Regions from separate parts of the Homo sapiens genome. Here region 1 is linked to region 2. The links are contacts of gene promoters, found by promoter capture Hi-C in human tissues and cell types (Jung and others, 2019). All regions are on one chromosome and are shown on one strand. The core of a region is centred on a gene start or on the middle of the fragment in contact, and the rest is flanking DNA. Distances in the headings are between cores, read along the strand shown. Region 1 has its middle 6.3 kb from the start of SGK2. Region 2 holds the start of OSER1 (oxidative stress responsive serine rich 1).

What was found. Contacts are between HindIII fragments. The study calls those that stand out against the background at their distance.
Region 1: a fragment that was not itself captured here is called in contact with the fragment with the promoter of OSER1 in region 2 in 1 of the 25 tissues and cell types used here (small bowel).

The regions. Positions count from the first base shown.
Region 1 is chr20:43,549,774-43,555,733 of GRCh38, reverse strand. It overlaps a transcript of L3MBTL1 not described here. Among named protein-coding and RNA genes, the nearest start is that of SGK2, 6.3 kb to the left of the region's middle. The HindIII fragment of the contact is 6,762 bases long and covers 1,200-5,960 here.
Region 2 is chr20:44,208,287-44,214,559 of GRCh38, reverse strand. It overlaps OSER1 (oxidative stress responsive serine rich 1), which reads left to right and starts at 3,789. Exons shown (of 4, transcript NM_016470.8): 1 at 3,789-3,864. OSER1-DT (OSER1 divergent transcript) reads right to left here and starts at 3,600. Exons shown (of 3, transcript NR_038339.2): 1 at 3,483-3,600. RefSeq lists silencers at 3,387-3,835, 4,031-4,100 and an enhancer at 3,760-4,379. The HindIII fragment of the contact is 11,638 bases long and covers 1-6,273 here.

The DNA of each region.
Region 1 (5,960 bases), core at 3,331-5,830, 660 kb after region 2:
TTCATTTGAAGTAAGAGTCTCTCTGTCGCCCAGGCTGGAGTGCACAATCTCGGCTCACTGCAGCCTCCCACTCCCAGGTTCAAGCAATTCTTCTGCCTCAGCCTCCCAAGTAGCTAGGATTACGGCACGCACCACCACACTCAGCTACTTTTTTGTATTTTTAGTAGAGACGGGTTTTGCAATGTTGGCCAGGCTGGTCTCAAACTCCTGGCCTCAAGAGATCCACCTGCCTCAGCCTCCCAAAGTGCTGGGATTACAGGCGTGAGCCACCGGTGACTGGCCTGCAAATCCCCTTTGTCTCTTTCCTTGGTGTGTCTTGCTTCCTGGATCCTATGTCTTCCTCTTTTAAAGGGAAATTTATTGTGGTAAATATAAAATTTGCCATTGTAACCATTTTTTGAGTGTGCAATTCAGTGTCATTAAGTATATTCATGATGTTGTATAAACATCATCATTATCTATTTAATTAATAAAAAATCTGTTTTTATCACCCCAAAGAGAAACTCTGTAATTATTAAGCAATGACTCCACATTTCCCCTTCCTCACAGTCCCTGGTAACCTCTAATCTGCTTTCCATCTCTATGAATTTGCCTATTTTGGATATTTCATATGTGTGGAATATTTGTTCTTTCGTGTCTGTTTTTCATTTTTTTGAGACGGAGTCTTGCACTGTCGCTTAGGCTGGAGTGCAGTGGTGCGATCTCGGCTCACTGCACCCTCCCCCTCCCGGGTTCAAGTGATTTTCCTGCCTCAGCCTCCTAAGTAGCTGGGATTACAGGCGCCTGCCACCACTCCCAACTAATTTTTTGTATTTTTAGTAGAGACAGGGTTTCACTATGTTGGCCAGGCTGGTCTCAAACTCCTGACCTCATGATCCGCCCACCTCGGCCTCCCAAAGTGCTGGGATTACAGGCATGAGCCACCGCGCCCGGCCTCATTTATTTCACTTAGCATGTTTTCAAGGTTCATCCAGTTGTAGCAAGTATCAGAACTTTATTCTTTTTTGACTGAATTAAGATTCCACTGAATGGATAGACCACATTTTGTTTTCTGTTGATGATGACATGGGTTGTTTGCATCTTTCGGCTGCTGTGAATAATGCTGCAATGAGCATAGGCATTCAAGTATGTTTTCAAATCTTTTGGGTATATACCAGGAGTGGAATTGCTGAATCATGTGATAGTTCTATGCTTAGCTTTTGAAGGAACTGCCAAACTCTTTTTTTCAGCCTACATCACGCTTTGAATGCCAAACTCTCTTCCATAGCAGCTGCACCATTTTATGTCTCCACTAGCAATGTACAGGGGTTCCAATTTCTCCACAGCCTCACCGTTTTACTTTCCTTTTTAAAAAAATTATAACCATCATAATGGGTAGAAAGTGATATCTCATTGTGGCTTTAATTTGCATTTCCCTAATGTCTAATGATGTTGAGCAACTCTTCATGGGCTCACTGGCCATTTGTATGTATTTTTTTGGAGAAATATCTATTTAAGTTGTTTGCCCATCTTTTAACTGGGCTTTTTGTTGCTTAGTTTTAGGAGTTCTTTATATATTCCACATGTTAAACCCTTGTAAAATTTGCAAATGTTTTCTTCCATCCTGTAGGTGCTTTTCACTTTTTTGATAATGTCCTTTGATGCACAAAAGTCTTTAAATTTTTATGAAATTCAATTTTTTTTTTTTTTGAGACAGAGTCTTGCACCGCTGCCCAGGCTGGAATGCAGTGGCGAGATCTCGGCTCACTGCAACCTCCGCCTCCCGGGTTCAAGCGATTCTCCTGCCTCAGCCTCCCGAGTAGCTGGGACTACAGGCGTGTGCCACCACGCCCAGCTAATTTCTGTATTTTTAGTACAGACGGGGTTTCACAATGTTGGCCAGGATGGTCTCGATCTCTTGACTTATGATCTGCCCACCTCGGCCTCCCAAAGTGCTGGGATTACAAGCATGAGCCACCGTGCCCAGCCATGAAGTTCAATTTATCTATTTTCTCTTTTGTTGCTTATGCTTTTGGTGCCATAGCTAAGAATTCATTGCCAATTCCAAGGTCATGAAGATATACCTTTATGTTTTCTTCTTAGGGTTTTATAGTTTTAGTTCTTATATTTAGGTCATCAATCCATTTTGAGTTAATTCTTGAATATGGGGTGAGGTAGGTATCCAATTTCATTCTTTTACAAGTATAAATCCAGTTACCCCAGACCCATTTGTTGAAGAAACTGTACTTTCCCCATTTAATGGACTTGGCATTCTTACTGAAAATCAATTGGTTAGGCCGGGCGTGGTGGCTCACGCCTGTAATCCCAGCACTTTGGGAGGCCAAGGCGGGTGGGTCACGAGGTCAGGAGATCGAGACCATCCTGGCTAACACGGTGAAACCTCGCCTCTATTAAAAATACAAAAAATTAGCCGGGCATGGTGGCGGGCACCTGTAGTCCCAGCTACTCAAGAGGCTGAGGCAGGAGAATGGCGTGAACCCGGGAGGCGGAGCTTGCAGTGAGCCAAGATCGCGCCACTGCACTCCAGCCTGGGCAACAGGGCGAGACTCTGTCTCAAAAAAAAAAAAAAAAAAATTTCAATTGGTTATGGACATATGGACTTGTTTTTAGACTCTGAATTCCATCCTATTGGTCTATTTGTCCTTATGCCAGTAACACACTGTTTTGATTATTGTGGCTTTGCATTCCAGCCTGGGCAACGAGAGCAAAACTCTGTAAAAAAAAAAAAGAAAAAGAAAAAGAAAAGAAAGAAAGAAAGAAATCGGTTTGTTCTTCAACTTTGTTATACTTTATTAAGATTGTTTGGGCTATCTGAGGCCTCATGCAATTCCATAGGAATTTAAGGATCTGTCTTTCCATTTCTGCAAGAAAAAAATAATCAGCTGAGATTTTGATAGGGATTGCATTGAATATGTAAATATCTTTGGGTAATATTGACATCTTAACAATATTAAGTCTTCCTAGCCATGAACACAGATCTCTTTCCATTTAGTTAGGTGTTCTTGAATTTCTTTCAGCAATGTTTTATTGTTTTCAGTATACAAGTTTGTTGTTTGTTTTTGATATAATTTGTTTTCTCGGTTCTCTCTTATTAGAATTTCTATTAATCATATATTTGGGCCTCCAACTAGTCCTCTGATATTTTCTTCTTTCCCATTTCTCATCTTTTCTTTTTTTTTCTTTTCTTTTTTTTTTTTTTTTTTGATGTGAAGTCTCACTCTGCCACCCAGGCTGGAGTACAGTGGTGCAATCTCGGCTCACTGCAACCTCTGCCTCCCGGGTTCAAGCAATTCTCCTGCCTCAGCCTCCTGAGTAGCTGGGATTACAGGAGCGCACCACCATGTCTGGCTAATTTTTGTATTTTTGGTAGAGACGGGGTTTCACCACGTTGGTCAGTCTGGTCTCAGACTCCTGACCTCGTGATCTGCCTGCCTTGGCCTCCCAAAGTGCTGGGATTACAGGCATGAGCCACCAGGCCCGGCCTCTCTTTTTCTTTTTATTCTGCCTACTGGGAAATGTCCTCAACTTTATCTTTTGACCCTTGTGTTGAATTTTTATCTCCATAATCCCATTTTAAATGTCCAAAAGCCTCTTCCTGTCTCTTAATGTTTCTTTTCCTTTTATTGCAGCTATGGCTAGTAGAAGATTAGCTTCTGACAAGTTGGAAGCATCAAGTCTTCCACTGTAATAGGAAAGAAACAGAATGAATGGGGGTGGGAGGAGACATGCAGATGAGACGGCAGGAAGGTGAAGGTGTTTCTTCCTATGACTTCCACTTTCTCTGTGACATGGATGGTAAGGATATCTGTCAAGACAATGGGGTAGGAGGTTTGAGAAGCATGAAAAGGGAAGTCAGAGCTAAAGCCCCCAGACCCTACGTGCTTCCTGGGTAGCCCTGAGGGTTCAGTTCACATTGAAGCCAGGGTCTACCAGTCTATCATGGCACCAATCTCGGTCAGGTAGGTTCCCAGTTGTGGTGTGGAGAGGATGCGCTCTCGGACAGCTCCATGGTTGGAGCTTCTAGACAAGTGATCTGGAACAGCAGCAGGGCAAAGAAATTAAGGATATTGACGAGAAAGCAGTTAAAGTGATCAAACACTTTAAGGTGGGAAAGGTGCCACCTTCCCACCTGCTTGTAGTCTCTGGGAAGCTTAACAAAATCTAACTGTTCAGGTTGACATTTCCCCATCTGAAAGTTTGATGTTTTCATTTTTTATTTGAGCACTGGGATAGAGCACAGTGTTGCAATCACAGCTCACTGCAGCCTCGAACTCCTGGGCTCAGGTGATCCTCCCGCCTCAGCCTCCTAAGTAACCGGGACTACAGGCATATGCCACCATAAAAAATACTTTTTTTTTTTTTTTTTTATAGAGACAGGATCTAGCTACGTTACCCAGGATGGTCTTGAACTCCTGGCCTCATGTGATCCTCCCTCCTTGGCCCTCCAAAGTGGCTAGGATTACAGGTGTGAGCCACTGTGCCCAGCTGATATTATTATTTTAAAAATTACAGGTTTCATTGAATTTTCTGCCCTTGACCATTTATCAAATGTTAAGGATCAGGCCCTTTTACACACCGATCTCTGGGAGTTCCCACTGTTTACACTTTCAGTGCAGACAGATACCCATTTATCCTTATCCTTTGTTTCTTTCCTTAAAAACTATAAGGACCCCTAACTAACAACAAAGAGAACACTTTAGTCTCTTCAGTAGTGCCACTACTGATAACCATTTTGTGTTCTCTGGATGTTTTATCATGAAAATAGAAACAGACTCTGGCTGCGTATCAGTTGTTCAAGTTTATTTATGTTGTTTTGATACACTGACAGATCACACCACATTTTGTTTGTAACTTTTTCTCCTTCAAGAGTCACCTTAGCTTAAGCCAGAAGATTCTCTTAAAGAACACATACACACATGTGCACACACAAGAGGCAAGTACAAAAATGTAACCCCACCAAAGTGCATGTGAATGAAAGTGCAAAAAAGGCTTCATTTGCAAACTCTGAGATCATTCTCTCTGCTTCAGAAAATAAACAGAAAGGTCCTAACTGCCCTAGGCCTGGGCTGATCAGGGGCTGGGCGAGGCTGCCAGGGGCCAAAATATAAGTGGCATCTGTTGCTAGGAGGGCAGAGGGCACCAGAAGTCTCTGCCAACTCCCTCCCCTCTCTGCGCTCCCAGGTCAAGGTGCAATAATATCATTTGGGGACAGAGTGGGGGTAAAGGGGCAGTAGGGCAGACAAGAGGCAGATTTCTTTCTACTTTTTAATGATTTGGTTTCTTTCCAAAGAGTTTGACGATAATGCAGAAAGTGCTGAGGCCTCAAAGTTCAGAAGCCTGGGAGCCCTTTTCTCCAAGGCCCTTGGTCCATCTTGCCTTCACCACAGGCAAGCATTAGGTGCTTGGCAGATCTGATGGCAAAGGCCCTCCCAGCCCCTCTCCTTAGAAGCTGTGAGGTCCCACAGCACCAGCCGTGAGTACTTGCTGCCTTCTCACTGCACAAAGTCAGTGAACATCTCTCATCTTTTATAGAGGAACAGACTGAGGATAAGGAGCTGATGAGTTCTGCTACCACCCAGACAACTAAGATAAAAGCAAGGCTTAGACTTGTTCTTCTTTACTCTTGGCCAAGGGGGTACCAATGTCACCCTTGTAAACCCAACCTTCGCTGTGTGGCAGGTCTTGCCTAGCTTCCTTCCAGGAAGGCTGTGCTCAAAGCTGCCTCTAAGCAGTTGAGAGGGAATGGACACCTAAAGCCCTGTGGGAGCTCAACTGTGGGAGCTGAATGGCTTCCTCAAAAAGCTGTCCAGCCCATGGCAGAGAGAGGCCCCTACTGGGTTGTGGTAGGAAATCAACAGAGCTCTGGGTTTCCCACTTCTAAGGGAAAAATAAAGCTTCAAATTTTAATGATAATAGCCCTTGGCATTTTCCCAACACTAAGCCTCACATCTGCACCCTGT
Region 2 (6,273 bases), core at 2,540-5,039:
TCCCTGTCCTCGGGTAGCTTCTATTCTAGTGAGGGGACCAAAAAATAACTATACATTGTCAGGTAGTGACAAGTGCTATGATAAAGCAGGGTAAAGGGATACACAGTGAAGGGGGTGCTGGGGAAGCCAAGGAAGACCCCCCTGGGGAGCTGATATGAGCAGAGACTTTGAATGACAAGATGAACTGTGAGTAAACAATGCTCCAGGAGGGGAAATACATACAAAAGACCTGAGAGGGAAATATGCCTGCTGGGTTCAAATATATGCAAAGAAAGAGTGGCTGGAACAGTCCTAGGCCCTGGGCAGCCAATTTCCTCAAACCCAGTGGTATTTTCCAGGTGAAAGCAGGTATCCCTGGTCTAGCTGGGTACATACAGGAGGTGAAGGTGGGGAGGCTAAGGAAAGCAGTGTAACTCAGCGGTCAGCAGGGTGCTATAGTCAGACTGCCTAGATTGGAATCCCCGTTCTACCACTTACAAACTATGTAACCTTGGACAAGTTATCTAACTATTCTGAGCCTAGTTTCCTCAGCTGTAAAACAGACATCATAGAAGTACATTTCACAAATTGGTTATGAAGATTACATGAGCTAACATCTTGTAAATCAAGACAAATAATCATTATCACTATCTTCTATCCCAAAGTCATTTTAATTTAATTTTATTTTTTTTTTTGAGACAAGGTCTTGCTCTGTAGCCCAGGCTGGAGTGCCGTGGCATGATCTCAGCTCACTGCAACCTCCACCTCCTGGGTTCAAGGGCTTCTCATGCCTCAGCCTCCAAGTAGCTAGGATTACAGGTGTGTGCCCACCACTCCCAGCTAATTTTTGTATATTTATTTATTTATTTTTCAGTAGAGATGGGGTTTCACCATGTTAGCCAGGCTGGTCTCGAACTCTTGACTTCAGGTGATCCACCTGCCTCAGCCTCCCAAAGTGTTGGGATTACAGGCGTGAGCCACCACGCCTGGCCTACCCTAAGTCATTTAAAAAAGTATATCGAGGTAAGAAATAAATTAATTTGAGTCTTAAAACATAAGAACAGAATATTTTCCAGATTACCAACTGGTAGGATGGCAGCCACATGGTTAGGCAAATAATTTTCTTTATTACTTTGGACTTGGCTTCTCCAAAGTTATTTTTTAAGAGAAACTATTATCTTCCTATATAAATTGTTCTTGCAGTATAAATTCATGGAATTAAGTCTCTCTTACTAAAGCATGTACAAGACACTTGTAGCAAGAAAGAAGCACTGTTAGAGGAATTTTACATCTACCACAGCTTTTTAATTAAATGGCATTACCATGTGCATTAATACAAAGTTGATTTCTTCAATATAAAGTCCACACACAAATTCAGGTTTTTTTCCCATGGTTAAAAAGACTTGGAATTGCTGGTATAGGACACCGATCTGGCTTTTTGTTCACTCAGATCCATCCCATTTTGTAGCTTTTCTATCTCTTTCCAAGTCATGATGTATCACACCGTGAGCCAGTCCTATGTATAATGACTTAAAACTTCAGGCCACGTCAGGTGTGTGAGTTAACAGGCTTCAGCATTCACAAGAGGTTCCCACCTTCCAAGTACTCCCCGAGTAATGAGTCACATTCTTGGAAAGCATCTAACTCTTTATGATGGAGATGTGCTTACATAAAATGAAATACTGTAACTTTTTAGTTTTTGGTATTTAATATAATTAGGGATGGAAAGCAGGTAAAATGAGAATTCACCAAAACTGTATTGAGCATCTACTAATCCCCAGGAAGTGTGCTAAGCCCTGGGAATTCAATCACGATCCAGACAATTCTTTCCCCTCAAGGATATATGAGATTTTTTTTTTTTTTTTGAGACAGTTTTGCTCTGTTGGCCCAGGCTGGAGTGCAGTGGCGCAATCTCGGCTCACTGCAACCTCCGCCTCCCGGCTTCAGAGATTCTCCTGCCTCAGCCTCCCGGGTAGCTGGGATTATAGGTGCATGCGCCACCATGCCCAGCCAATTTTTCATATTTTTAGTAGAGAAAGGGTTTCGCCATGTTGGCCAGGCTGGTCTCAAACTCCTGACCTCAAGTGATCCACCCGCCTCGGCCTCCCAAAGTGCTGGGATTATAGGCATGAGCTACCGTGCCAGGCCTTCTCAAGGATATATGAGATTTTATCTTAAGTTATATTTTGAAGTGGCAGCTTAAAAAGACATGTTTGGTTTTGATACATTTCACTTGGCAAGGTCTGAGAAAATAAATACATCATATTTCCCGCTTTTTCTTGTCCAAGAGATGTTGAGAAGGGCAGTTTAAATCCTGACTTACTAGCACTGTGAGACAGGACAAAGGCAGCTAGAACAAGTTATCTGATCTCTAACATAATCTAATGCTATCTAACTAGCATCATTAGGTTACAATGAACAGTTTTCTTTCAACCGGTCAGTTACTGAGCCTCTGGTATGAACGACGAGAATTTAAAATGTTTTATCCAGGGCCAACATCATGCTTCATGTTTAACAACGTTATACAATAAATTGTTAGATTTCATTTACAGACATAGGCCAGGCATTCCAAAGCCTGGCTGTAGTTAAGCTGGACACAGTTAAACCATCTTCGGCAGCCTATCTAGTTGACTACAACTAAGGTATTGGGGAATGACGGTGGATGGGGCCAGTTTTGGTTCAGGGAAAAACCCTCACTCTAGGGGTGGGCCACAATCAACGCCATCCAACTCAATTGCGCAAAATCATCTGTTCTCACGAAGCTTTGAGCAGTGCAGACGTGGAGCTGGAGATTGGCAGGCGAGGAGAGGCACAGCTAGATCAGCAGAACCAGTCCTGGTGATGGAGCGGGTGGCAGCTGTTGCACAGATCACCTTTTCCCGCCTACCATCTGAGCAACATTCAGAATCAGAAAAATGTAAAGAATCCTAAAATTCATCTCCTTTGGTGAACTGCCTAAATCTTTTTGCAAAATTTGGTGTGTAGGTGCATTTCTTTGGCAAGAGGATCTACAGTTCTCACCAGATTCTCAAAGGAGTCTACGCCTGAAAACACGAGATTCACCGATAAGGTTCAACTTCCTCACTTACTAGATGGAAAACTGAGAGGCCCAAAGGAGGAAAAGCAGTTGCCTCAAGACAAACAGCAGAGATATCAAAACCGAAGGCATTTCAATTCAATTCTAATTCTGGCTTCACACTATTGACCCTGGCCACGTCCAATACCTCTTCACTTCTCTGCAGGACCTAAAAGATCACCAGGAGGCGAGGGCTGGTGTCCGAGTCCCGGAGAGGTCGCAGGCAGTCCAGATTCTAGCATCACAGAAACTCTGGCCAAGCGCTCAGCCGGGGATTGTCTGCCATAAAGACCCCCGCACCCTGTCCTCGCCCCCGCCCCGTGGAATTCCTCTGCATAGGTGACTCCACGTAGAGGACCGAGCGCAAGGAGATCCCGGGGCGGTGGAGGCAGAGGACTACTGTGAAGAATGACGCCTACTCACTCACCTAACAGAGAGGAGGAAGCAGGCACGCCCCAAAAGCGGGTCGGGAGCAAATCCACGCCACTGGGAGGAGGCAAACCGAAGAATAACAGGAAATTACGTAAGGCGCACGTGCTTCTGAGGGGGGCGGGTGCGGGGCGTTGGAGAGGCGCGGCCGCCGCCCTGCGTCTGCGCAGTCGTCGGCTGCCGCGCTGCCGAGTCACTGGGGTGGGAGGAGCATAAGCAGGGGGAGGGGTGCATGCCGGAGTGCGCAGGCGCAACGCGACTCCCGAGGCGCGGGCCGCCCCCTTGGCTGGTTTGGATCCGGGTCAGTCGGGTGCCGAGATTTGGGAGAGACGCTCTGAACTGACTGCCCCGCATCACCGGAGCGTCCCAGCTGCGAGGAGGTAAGTGCCCTGACGTGACGGGGAGGGGCCGCAGCACTGCGTCTCAGCTTCCACTGCCGGTCTGGCCGCGGGCGGTTTTCCCCGGGCCCGCCCGCCTTGGGTCGCGTCGTCTCCCGACGCCTCCTGCCTGGGCCGGGCCTGGGCCTCTCCGCGCCCCCTTATCTGCCGCGGCCTGTGCCTGCTGGAGCTCCGAGCTCCACGCTCTCTCCCCTTCCCGCCTTCCCGTCCTCCCGCGGTCCCCCGCCCCGTCTCGCTCCTCCGCCGTCTCCCGCCCAGCGGCAGCTTCCCCTTTTCGCCCTCCTTGGCCGCCCTTTGCCCCTTCCAGTCCTTTCTCTCTCGCCTCGGAGCCCCATTCTCTTTGGCTACCTCTTCGGCCCCACTCCTTTCTTCTCCCGCATCCCTTGTGCCTCGCTCCGACTCCAGCCTCTCGTTCTGACCCCAGGAATCTCCCGAGGAGCGCAACTTCACAGCTGGAGACCCCGGGCGGGCAGTGCCCCTGGACAGCTCCCTGCTTGGCGTTGTCCCCACACTCCAAGCCCCGTCCTACCCCTCTGGGTTCTGACTAGGAATTTTCCTCCGTTCATGTTTAACCGCGACAGGCACAGACTCTGGGTGAAAAGAAAGAACTTTGTGCTTTGGCTGCAGCGCTGCGAGTATAAAGGGATGAGTGGGTTGCACGGAGAGGTGTGAATGTGCTTTTTGTCCTGGGGGCCGATTGTTTCCTCCCGGTCTAGTTTGCCTCTTAGAGTTGCTGGGTTTGGTTTTCTTCCCCATACTCTACGCTTTCTGGTGGTCTGGGAGTTTCGAAATCTTTAATGTTGTGATGACAACGCTTACCCGCGCATCCCTTCTTGATCGTTCTTAGGTCTTCTCAGGGGCCTGGAAGTGTAGACCTAGGCTTGGGATTCAAGGAGGTCTTGGTTAAAACGGCAAGATGTAAATAAGATTGTGACGCATCCATTTTGTTGAAAGAAAAAACCAGGAATTTGGCCTTTTGATGGAGGAACTTAGAAGAACTTTGTAATTTTTGTAAGGTTGTGGAAAATCCGAGGCAAAGTTAAATTGCCTGGTGTGATTTGACTTTAACTTCGAATAGGCTTTTTAAAGTTTCATCTCTTTGGAGATTGTTCAACTTCACGAGTTCACTGCAGTGAAAACGCCAAGACTGTCTCCCACAAATTTAATATTAATGAAGAAAGGCAAGCCAATTATATCTGTTGTCCGGAGTTAGTTGTACAGCCCTTTCTTTGAATGGGGATCTGGGGATGCAGAGGAGCATAATGAGCCTTTTATAATTACAAACATGCTCTTCTCTAGCTCTTAAGGTTATGCCTAACGCTCATTTGCTCTTGGCTAAAATAACTGAGAAAAAAAGTGAGTAGTAAAAAAATGCTGGAAGTCTGAAAATGGTTTAGACAGAACTTCATTCCTGAAGTTTTAGTCTGTAGCCAGATTTTAATTCTGGCCTGTTTTGGTTTTTAGATGATAGATCTTTTAGTGTGTCAACAGGAATGTAAAGTTTGTATTAACATCTAGGGTGATCACCTGCCATGCTATTAAGTCAGCATGGTATAATTAAAAGTTACATATGTAGGTTCAGAGCCTCTTAGCACAGTGTTACATTGTAAGCTCTTGGAGGGCAGGAATGAGATTCTAGTCCTTACGGAAATGGAGTTTGGGCTTCTATCCCTAGCATTCATTCTAGTGCCATGCACGTGGTAGGAATTCTGTAAATATTTGTGAAAGAAATGAATTTCTGCCTGTAGGGTTCAGCAGTGTATACTTAAATGTGATGTGTACGTAAATGCTGACTGATTTCCAGAGAGGGCTAAAGAGGACTTGGGGGGCGGTCTGCGGGTTGGGGAGATTGGCTCAGATGATTTATGAACTCGGTAAGAGCTGAACATTGACTAACGGATCATAAGGTAATTGAGGAACATTGTAAGTCAAACTTCAATTTAGTTCTACCAGCAGGAAGGATTTGTTTACAACCTGCAATAGTACTCTTTTAGATGATGTGAAGCTTTGAAAATATTGAAATAAGTGATTGCTCACCTCTCCCCCCAGGTATATAGGAATTGATTGTGTATTTGGGGGATCCTACCCTAAACTGAGAATTAGAGACTAGTGAAGCATGGGATTGTGTGGATAATGTTTCTTCATGTTTATGTACTTAAATAAACCAGCAAAATATACGTCGAGAATGTATCTAAATTATTTTTTTGTCCTAAGAAGTTGAGGTGCAGGCTGGCTGAATTTTTTTTTTTTTTTTTAGTAGCTGAATTCTTTTGAGACTGTTTTCAGTGTTCCCCAGAGAGCTCTGCCTAAAATACCTTAACTTCCGCAAATAAGTAAAGTGAAAAGTCCTGATTCCTTGCCTCTTTATTTTGCGCTGGTACTACAATAATA